Regions from separate parts of the Homo sapiens genome. Here region 1 is linked to region 2. The links are contacts of gene promoters, found by promoter capture Hi-C in human tissues and cell types (Jung and others, 2019). All regions are on one chromosome and are shown on one strand. Each heading gives the region's core, a stretch centred on a gene start or on the middle of the fragment in contact. The rest is flanking DNA. Distances are from core to core; before and after follow the strand shown. Region 1 has its middle 58 kb from the start of BDKRB2. Region 2 holds the start of BDKRB1 (bradykinin receptor B1).

Evidence for each region. Contacts are between HindIII fragments. The study calls those that stand out against the background at their distance.
Region 1: a fragment that was not itself captured here is called in contact with the fragment with the promoter of BDKRB1 in region 2 in 5 of the 25 tissues and cell types used here (adrenal gland, bladder, heart left ventricle and 2 more).

What each region holds. Positions count from the first base shown.
Region 1 is chr14:96,144,104-96,149,271 of GRCh38, forward strand. No RefSeq gene overlaps it. Among named protein-coding and RNA genes, the nearest start is that of BDKRB2, 58 kb to the right of the region's middle. The HindIII fragment of the contact is 3,202 bases long and covers 1,207-4,408 here.
Region 2 is chr14:96,252,608-96,258,568 of GRCh38, forward strand. It overlaps BDKRB1 (bradykinin receptor B1), which reads left to right and starts at 3,603. Exons shown (of 3, transcript NM_000710.4): 1 at 3,603-3,693. RefSeq lists an enhancer at 589-1,098. The HindIII fragment of the contact is 16,224 bases long and covers 1-5,961 here.

The sequences.
Region 1 (5,168 bases), core at 1,558-4,057, 110 kb before region 2:
TCCCACCAGTCAGAATGGCTATTATTTAAAAAAGTCAAAAAACAACAGATGCTGGTGAGGTTTCAGAGAAAAAGGAATGCTTTTACACTGCTGGTGGGAATGTAAATTAGTTCAGCCCTTGTGGAAAGCAGTGTGGTCACTTTTCAAAAAAACTTAAAACAGAATTACCTTTTGACCCAGCTATCCCATTATTGGGTATATATCCAAAAGAATAGAAATCATTCTGCCATAAAGACCCATGCACGTTTATGCTCGTTGCAGCACTTTTCACAATAGCAAACACATGAAATCAACCTAAGTGCCCCTCGACAGTATACTGGATAAAGAAAATGTAGTACACATATACCACAGAATACTATGCAGTCATAAAAAAGAATGACATCATGTACTTTGCAACAACATGGATGGAGCTGGAGGCCATTATCCTAAGCAAACTAAGGCAGGAACAGAAAACCAAATATCGCATGTTCTCACATACAAGTGGGAGCTAAACATTGAGTTCACATGGACACAGAGAAAGAAGTAACAAACATTAGGGCTTACTTGAGGGTGGAGGTGAGAGGAGGAAGAGGAAAAACTACCTGCCAGGTACTATGTTAATTATCTGGGTGATAAAATAACCTGTACCCCAACCTCCCATGACATGCAATTTACCATATAACAAACCTGTACATGTACCCCGAACCTAAAATAAAAGTTAAAATAAATAAATAACAACATAAAAGAATCTATTATTATTACGGAATTTACATTAGAGTCCTGCATATTTTTAATTATTTGTCAATTGTGTCCTACACATTCTTTGTATCGCTAGATATATAACAAACTTATGTACATGTATAATTACGCATACTTTTTGTGGATTACTGATTATTAAATATTTACCAGCACAGCACTGCTCAGACTCCATTCTTGGTGATAATTGATCAGCCATGGCATTGGTATTTTTTAAATCTATCAGCTGCTACCAGCATGGAGAGGAGCTGAGAATCACTACCCTAGAAGAAGGTAGCAAAGAAGAGGAAACTACTAGCCTCTGGCCAAACATGAGACCCCCTGCTCCCACAGGTACAGCTCAGATTCTGAGCACTTTGGGGTTAGAGAGAGGGCGGCAGGTTTTAGGGAGAGTAGCCCCTTATTAAATAAGTCTGGCCTGTGGGTTCTACTCACTCTAACACAGTGGATCACAAGGACCTCCCCCTGGACTGAGAGCTCCTTAAGGGACAGGGCTATCTTACTTATCCCTGAAGACCTGGCACATGGTGGATGCTTCTTGAATGTTGAGAAAATGAATTAATAAGTTGTATTAAGACATAGTTATTCCAAACATCCAATAATAATGCTTTGGATAAATCAATTATGGTACCAAATTCAAAGGATTACTCTGCAACCATTAAAAATGATATTTAGTGAGATATGAAAATGCTTATGACATACTGTAATTGCAAACAGAAAGCTACAAAATAACATATGAATTACGAGCACAGTTTCGTTTTACAAGAAACACACAAAATTTATTCCCGAGTTTGACAGGGTATAAAATCAACTTCTGGCCTGTGTATGATTCATGTTGGAGAAACAAATGCTTCCTGACTCTTTGGAATTTACTGAAACCTCATTCTCCAAGGGAAGAATTTGTTTAGTTCGTGATTATTTTCATAGCCATGGTATGGACTAGAAAGTGGGTGCTGGGATTTGGAGTAATATTTTGCCACAGAGAATAAAAGAGTCCTCCCTAAAGGCGGCCCCATGCCCTGTGGTACATTCAGATAGGACATCTCACCAATTTAGATGTTTAGATATGACATCCACATGTTGTATTAGAACATACAGAAATATGATTCTGATATTGAGGGGGTTAGGGCTCATCTGTGATTAATCTTTTAAATTTTTGATCTTTTGAATCGTTAAATGTAATCTTTTAGTTTACATAACATTGATTGCCCACAGCTAAAAGGTTGGGAAGCACAGTGACCATCATCCCAGAGTTAGGAAGACTGAAAGGAAAGCTAAACTAGCTCCTTGAAAAGTCATGTAAACTATGTGGAATTCCTCCTGGATGCATCCAGAAACTACTGGCTGGGACTGAGCAAAGATAACAGCTATTTAACATGCTTAGCAACACTCTGGAACTCAAATACACTTTACCAAATAAATCACTCACCATTGTTCTAGGCCTGGGGCTCCCCTGGCATTGCAGGACAAACATGACTGTGTTCCCCTGCCAAGAATGAGAAAGCACAGCCAGCCAGCTCCCTCTGGAGCAGGGCATGAATTGGCGGTGGATGAAATTGGTCTTAGCTCATTCCTCAAGACCTTCCCCGCCCAGTCACTCAGTGTGTGGAAGTGGAAAGTGTTTAACAAACAGGGTAGAATTAACTTCCAAAACAGAGGTAAAAACTCCCAGGCCACCCCTACCCTGCATCCTGTGGTGTACAACTACAGGAACTCAACAAGGGCAAAACACCACCAAGAACTCAAAGACGCAAGTAAGAGTTAAGTCTGACCTCACATGTCCCCCAGCATGCAGCAACTCAAGCAAACACATCCACTAAATCTGAAAAAATATATTTGAGAGAATGCTTACCCTTCCCGGTGACCCCAGAACATGTGAGCCCTTTACAATGTTGAGAAAGAAATGTGCCTTCAGGCCAGTTTTACCATCTAGGTAATTTCGTTTTGCATTTTAAACATTTACTTTGTTGACTTTCTGTCTTAATGACCTGTCTAGTGCTGTCAGTGAAGTATTGAAGTCTCCCACATTATTATGTTGCCATCTATCTCATTTCTTAGGTCCAGTAGTAATTGTTTTATGAATTTGGGAGTTCTGGTGTTTTACATATACACACACACACACACACACACACACACACACACACGTATAGCTACAAAATATATATGTATATGTGTATAGCTACATATACATATATGTGTATGTGTGTGTATATATATATGTATATATATATATATATATATATATATATATATGCCTGTGATATTTTCCTGTTGGACTATTCCTTTTATCATTATACAATGTCCTTCTTTGTCTTTTTTCACTGTTGCTGCTTAAAAGTCAGTTTTGTCTGATATAGGAATAGCTACTTCTACTCTCTTTTGGCTTCTATTTGCGTGGAATATCTTTTGTCACCCCTTAAGCTTATGTGAGTCCTTATGTGTTGGGTGAGTATCTTGAAGACAGCAGATACTTGGTTGGTGGATTTTTATCCCTTCAGCCATTCCATACCTTTTAAGTGGAGCATTTAGGCCATTTACATTCAATGTTAGTATTGAGATGTGAGGTACTGTTCTATCCATTATGTTAGTTGTTGCCTTAATACCTTGTGGTTATTTCCATTGTATTATTGTTTTATAGGCCCTGTGAGATTTATGCTTTAAGTAGGTTCTATTTTGGTGTATGTCAAGGTTTTGTTTCAAGATTTAGAACTCCTTTTAGCATTTCTTATAGTGCTGGCTTAGTTGGGCAAATTCTCTCAGCATTTGTTTGTCTGAAAAAGACTATCTCTCCTTCATTTATAAAGCTTAGTTTCACTGGATACAAAATCCTTGACACACAATTATTTTGTTTCAGGAGGTTGAAGATGGGACCTCCATCCCTTCTGGCTTATAAGGTTTCTGCTGAGAAGTCTGTTGTTAATCTGATATGTTTTCCTATAGATTATCTGATGCTTTTGTCTCAAAGCTCTTAAGATTCTTTCCTTCATCTTGACTTTAGATAACCTGATGACTATGTGCCTAGGTGATTATCTTTCTATGATGAATTTTCCAGGTGTTCTTTGAGCTTCTTGTATTTGGAGGTCTAAATCTCTAGCAAGGCCAGGGAAGTTTTCCTCAATTATTCCTTCAAGTAAGTTTTCCAAACTTTTAGATTTTGATTCTTCCTCAGGAACGCCAAGTATTCTTAGATTTGGCCATTGAACATCCCAAATTTCTTAGAAGCTTTGTTCGTTTTTAAATTCTTTTTTTCTTTGTCTTTTTCTGATTGGGTTAATTTGAAAGCCTTGTCTTCAAGCTGTAAAGTTCTTCTACTTGCTCTAGTCTATTGCTGAAACTTTCCACTGCATTTTGTATTTCTCTAAGTGTGTCTTTCATTTCCACAAGTTGTGATTGTTTTTTTCTTTACATCTATTTCTCTGGAGAATTTTTCATCCATATCCTGTATTTTTTTTTAAAGTTCCTTAAGTTGGTTTTCACCTTTCTCTGGTATCTCCTTGAGTAGCTTTAATAATCAACCTTCTGAATTCTTTATCTGGCCATTCAGAGATTTCTTCTTGGTTTGGATCCATTGCTGAAGAGCTGATGTGATCTTTTGGGAATATTATAGAACCCTGTTTCGTCATAGTACTAGAATTACTTTTCTGATTCCTTCTCATTATTATTGCTCTTCTGGGTCTAGCCACCCAGTGGGGATACCAGGCTCTGAGCTTGTGCTGGAAGATGTCTGCAGAGTCCTATGATGTGACCTGTCTTCAGGTCTTCCAGCCGTGGATACCAGTGCCCACTCTGTGAGAGTCTTTGGTTGTAGATATGTTTAGTGTGCTGACTTTCTTGAATGCCGGTTATGCTAGTGATGAGGTTTCATGTGGACACCCGCAGGACCTCTGGTTAGCCAAGATATTGCAGGCAGCAAAATTAGGTGTTGTATTCTCCTTCCTGGGATCAAGGTCATTCTGTCCTGAGTTGTTGTAATGACCTGAGTTGGTTGGCCTCCAGCCAGGAGGTGCTGCTTTCAGGAGAGCAACAGCTGCTGTAGTAGTAGGAGGCTCTAAGCTCTCTAGGCTTGCCCAAAGATGGCCAGGGTAAGTATTTTGATTTATCAGGCAATGGATAGGGCCTTAAAGCTTCCAAGAGTTTCTGGGTTTTGTGTTTGGCTACGAGGGCAAGTAGGGAAATACCATCAGGTCCAGGCAGGGTTAGGCAGGTCTAGGCTCACACTCTTCTTGTGGAGGGCTTACCATGGCCACTGTGGGGAATAGGGGAGTGTCTCTCAGGCCAATGGGGTTAGGTCCAGAGGGGATTATGACTGCCTCTGCCATGTCATGTAGTTTGCCAGGGAAGTGGGGGATAGTTGGTAGCGAGAGGCCTCACCCAGCTCCCACGTAGTTGGAAAGACTAGTCTTGCTCTTGCAGTGCCCCACTCAGACCTTGCC
Region 2 (5,961 bases), core at 2,353-4,852:
GGGCCTGAGACAGCAGCAGAGGAGTTCGAGAAGAGACATGAGACGGCCTGGCTTCGGCTTTAGGAGACAGAGAAATGCAGCTGATTTTCCTGGTACAAGCCCCTTCTGAGAGCATGTGCACTCCTGGGATTCTCGAGGCTCCCTAAAGAGGAAGGTCTCGTGATCCCCTGCTCTGCCTGGGCGAGAAGGCTTTCATCTCCCAAAGCAGGGCCACACAAGGGCGGGGAGGAACCCCTGGCCCAGTGGAGCTTTATCTGCTAAGTGGGCACCTTCCCACCCCAGAGCCAGCACCCAGGACCCTTCACTTCTGGGCTGGCTGCCAGGCCATGGCAGCACCTGGAGCTGCCTGAATGCCCAGGACGTGCTCATGTCCACCCTGTCATCCTGTAGATCTCCAAGTGTTTGTGCTTTGCTAAATGTATATTTGGGATTTTCTGCTTACCTCCCCCCTTACACTTAGACACCGTCTGTTCACCCCATCCATTCCCCGCTTCCTATGTGCTAGACACGCATGCTCTTCTAGGGTGGCATTTGCCTGGCACCAGCTGGGTGCTCCATATGTGTTTTTAAAATAAAGGGGAAAGCACTCAGGCCCCGTGCTTAGAGAAAAGCAGAGGATTACACCAGGACTTGAGTGATGGATGAACACTGAACAGTGCGAGGAGGAGGAGGTCATTTTCAGCAAATGCTCACAAGCAGGATGCATTCAGAGCCCATGAGTCACTCGCTCAGCATGGAGGGTGGCTCTGGGTGTTACAGCAAGACCGTTGGGGAGCTCTTGAATTCCAAGGGGTTGGGTCGTTGTCCTGTGGCATGACAAAATCCAGGTGTTTCCAGAATATTAATCCAGCAGAAGGATAGACTGAAGGAAAGGAATCAGAAAGCCAGGAGATTGGTTTACAGTCCTTTGTTGCAGACTTGTATGTACGTTGCATGAGTTTCTAAACCCTGTGATGGGAAGAAAGGTGTGACCGCCAACAGCCTTGGTCGGGGGTGAAAGGACACGAGCTGGACCACAGTGAGGGTGCTGCATTTCATCCTGGCAAGAATTCTGCCCAGCTGTGGCTTTCTGTCCTCCGTCTACAATTGGGAGAATACTGGAGACATCAGATGTCGTGTAAGGACTAAGAACGAACCCTGGAGAGGCTCAGCATCTGGGTGCTATTTGTAGAGGTCTGCTGGGTGACATGTACTAGAGTCTTTCATTTTGAAGAACCTGCTGGATATGACTAGAAAAGTAAAGGAGAAAAAAACTCCAGGACTGATGGATGAGAGAACTGAAAAGTGGCCCTTGATGTCACAGTGGGCACTGGGACTGCATGTCCCCAGGGGCTGCAAACTCCAGAGCTCACCTTCCCTTGAATACACATCCAGTATGGCCCAAGCCCACGCATACTACAGGGAGTCCAGCCTGCCTGGAGTGCCCCCTCACTAGTATTTAGGACACCCCAGGGAAGGTTGGCCTGTCCTCTATTTCCAGAGGCAGGCCTTTATCCTCTGTGACCACCTCTTCACCCAAGTACCCAGGGGACTTCATCAAGCACAGCACACATCAGACTGTAAGGTTTAACCAAACCTTATAGAGGCTGTGGGAATTACAAACAACTAAATTCAGAAAAGGCAAGCATTGGCCGGGCACGGTGTCTCACGCCTGTAATCCCAGCACTTTGGGAGGCCAAGGTGGGTGGATCACCTGAGGTCGGGAGTTTGAGACCAGCCTAACCAACATGGAGAAACCCCGTCTCTACTAAAAATACAAAATTAGCTGGGTGTGGTGGTGTGTGCCTGTAATCCCAGCTACTCGGGAGGCTGAGGCAGGAGAATCGCTTGAACCCAGGAGGCGAAGGTTGCAGTGAGCCGAGATCGCTCCATTGCACTCCAGCCTGAGCAACAAGAGCGAAACTCAGTCTCAAAAAAAAAAGAAAAAAGGCAAGCGAAGCCTCAGAAGAGGGTCCTCAGTGCCTACCCACTTCTTAGTCCCCTGCTATCTTCTGCCACACTATAGGGACCTGCTTTTCTTTCACAGATTTGGGGTCCCCTCCCCCTGCCCTCAGCCCCACTCCCTTGGCCCCAGAGACAGTAGGAGACCCTCTGCTCCCCTGAGCCCGGGCCTGTCTCGCATTTCCCGTGGAGATGAGCAACAAGGGGAAACGTGGGTCTTCTTAAAGAACTTTCCTTTCCGCCCTCCACCACCTTGGCAAGGCAGCCAGATGCATCTCCGAAGTCCAGCTCACTCAGGCCAGCTCTCTTCACAGACTGTCTTCCAGCAAGAGGCAAAGCAGAGATGAGACCTGCACGTGCTCTTTGTGGCAGAGCTGGCCTTATACGCACTCCTGGGTGAATAAACAGGGAGACATCTCCTAAGAACAAACGCTTCTCAGAAACAGTATAGTCTAAACTCATACTGAAGGGAGAATAAGCCAGCCACGGGCTGGAGAGACCCCCGCCTACATTACTAAGTAACAGGAAAGGCTAAGATTTGGAGCCTTCCTCCGGTTCAGATCTATCCCGGGAGTAATGGAAGATGCTTGCCTGTTGACAATTTTTTTTTATTAAAAATCCCACCCAGGAGGTCTCTCCTGATAGGAGGGGACCATCCTATCCTCTAAGGCAAATTCCAGCTTCTTCCCTGAAATGTACATCCGCTACTGAGCCTCAGAATGCTATTTGTTCCACCTACTTCCACAGTTTTAAGGTCTTCAGCAACAGGAGAAGACAGCAGGAAAACTTGAAGTGCAGTTGGCTCCCGCTGAGATGTCACTAGCAGAAAAAGGGAACACAAGCAAAAGGCAAGATTCTAAAGACAGAGGTGACACCTTCTGCTCCAAACATTTGGAGGGTCACCTTTCCAGAAGTCAGACTCGAAGTCCTGAATTCTGGCATGAATGAGTTCTCCTACGTGTAGGGGGTGGCCTGGAAAGATCTTAATTTGTAAGTTGACAGGTAAGGGGCCTTCAGTTGGAGAATCTTGTCACCTGATTCTCAAAGCCAAAAATATCTTACTGTCTGAAACATGAGGTCTTGAGTAGTTCAACTTGACCCATGCAGACATAATTTGAGAGACGCCAAGGAGGATTAGGAAAAAATGTATCTGGTCTTACTCAACTCTGAACATTGCATGAGTCAAACGTTTTCCTAGCTCTCTGTTTGTGTGATGGGTCCACTCTGATGGATTCTTGGCGATGTATCTTTCATGACCAAAATTCAAAAGAGGCCATTCGAAGTGGCTCCCACAAAAGCTGCTGCAGAGCCCCAGACATTCAGAAGCCAATAGTGAAGGGGCCAAAAGCCATCCCTCAATGTTCACTGACACTTTGCGAGCCTTGGGGCAAGTTGGCGATGTCAAAACATGTTTTTAGGGCGTGTTTGCCAACATACAGGTCTTGGGCAGGATTGCAGACCTCTGCAGATGGTACCAAAGTAAAGGGGGAGATGGTAGCTGAATAATCTCTTATCATCCCTAAAGTGCAAAGTGAAATGAGAGTGGATTTTTCCTTCCAAATCCACTTGGAGTGAGTCCCGAAAGACTCACTTTTGCGGCAATCCCCACAATGACATCACTGGAGCGGAGGTTATATAATTTAAAGCAACCACATCTCCACAGCACTTCCCAGAAGAGAAAACTCCTCCAAAAGCAGCTCTCACTATCAGAAAACCCAACTACAGTTGTGAACGCCTTCATTTTCTGCCTGAGTAAGTAAATGACCACCTTTTTTTTTTCTTTTATGAGAGTACAATATGAGAGGAAATCTGTGTCTCTTAGAAAAACAAAAAACTTCCTTTTACACCTACCTATTGGCAAAATTTTCCACTTCTGTGAGGGTACTTTTTAAAAATAATTCTAAATCAATTTAAGAGACTTTTATTTCATGCCTAGTTTGGGTCTTAATTGCTTTTCCAGAACAGGAGGAGGAGGGAAAGGTTTTAGAACTCGTAGGAAGGTTCCAGTAGCTCCTTATATCAAAGTCAGGTGAAACATGTCAGGGCTGAATGCAGCCACCAGAGTTCGCATGGACTGACCAGTTACAGCCTGCAAATTCTGAATCATAAAAATTAAATTAGTCTCTCTGGGATGGCTTACAAGATTTCATAAGACCAATAACTGGTTGGGTTATTCGTGGCTTGAAAGTAGCATCTTACTATGTGACCGTGCTGATGGTCTTTAACATCTGTGGCTGAATTTCCAATGCCTTTAACATCACCATGCTGTTGAAATTGGAGTTAATTTGAAGAATTAACTAATTTGTTGAAGAAAGTCACACTGTCTCATAGCCTAGGTTAAAATGTGCAGAATTCAGAAAATACCACACAGGAATTACAGAATTGCCATCTCTTGTAGACTTGCCCAGTGCCCCTTCTGAGTTCTTCAAATAGGGTCACATATTACTAACAATATCCAGAGATATTGTTTATTGAGCACCTACTATGTTCCAGGCAAATATCAGAGCTAAAGCTGAAAACTGGCAAAGGAAGATTTCTCCTCTCTAGCCAACTTTATAAACACAGACAGCAGCAGGTGAGGACAATCCCTTTAAAAATAAGCCCCATGTGAGCAGACACATGCTGTGGCTGCAGTGGCCCCAGCCACCTCCCCGTCCTGGGGATGGGGGCGGTGTCCACTGACCTAATCAGGTTCGAGCTAAAGTCCCTGCGTAGCTGGTCGTCTCTGGCTTCCTGGGCAGGGTGCAGCCTCACCCCCGTGCTGGTTTCCTAAGGCTGCTATAATTAATTATCACAAAGTGAGTGGCTTAAAACGATGCAAGTTATTATCTTACAGTTCTGGAGATCAGGAGTTCAAACTCAGTCTCGCTGAGCTAAAGTCAAGATATTGGCTTGGCTTTGTTCTCCATCCCCATGATTCAATTATCTCCCACCAAGTCCCTCACACAACACGAGAGAATTATGGGAGCTACAACTCAAGATGAGATTTGGGTGGGGACACAGCCAAACCATATCAGTGCTCAACACCCTCCCATCTCTTCTCAAACTCTCAATGCCCCAGCCCCTCCACCACAGGTCAGGACCTCGCCTCCTTTCTCCCTGAGAAATCCCAACCAATCGCCGGGGAATTCTACAGATTCCCACCTGCCAGCCTCTGTCACCATAGACCTCAGCTTCCTGGCCATCATCAGAGATAGCTAGGAGAGGGATGGTCAGGCCATGTGTGTGCACACTGCCGGGGCACCCCAATAGTCAAAAATTATTTCCCCCAAAAATTAGTATTTACAGGTAGAAAGAGAGAGGAAAGAAGGAAGGAAGGAAAGAAGGAAGGGAAGGAAGGAAGGAAGGAAAGCAGGATGGGAGGGAGGGAAGAAGGGAGGGAGGAAGGGAGGGATGGAGGAAGGAAGGAAGGAAGGAGGGAAGGAGGGTAGGGAGGGAAGGAGAGAAGGAGGGAATGAAGGGAAGGAAGGAAGGAAGGGGAAAAAATCCAACAAAATGGTTATATTATATTGATGGTGTTATAAAGTAGTTCTAGATAAAAACTATTTTCAAAAAAGTCTTTAAATATATATGCATACACCTATGAATATTAAAGCAAAAGAAAACATGTTTATGTTAATCAACTGAACATTTAAAAATAAGATAAGCAAAATAATTGTTCTTGTTGTATATTCACATGCTACAGTTTCTTGTACCTGACTGATACCCTGTCACTGGCATTTTTCACAAGAATGTATTTTCTTCAGTGGGGTCTTGTTATTTTTAATTTTTCCATATAATTGCCTGAAATCTTTTTTCCACAAATTTTACAATTAACAAATTTAAATTAGTACCTTCAATTGACTCTTCTCTTGAACCATAATATATTGAGAAAATGTTCCCTGTGCAGGTTCTGAGTGATAAGCTCTCAGCAAATTCTGCCAGGCAGAGGCTGTTCTCAAGTCCAATTCTTTGCATATGGAATTGCATAAATATTTTAGCCCAGATATTTTCACAGGTGCTGTCTTTGTGCCTTAGTTT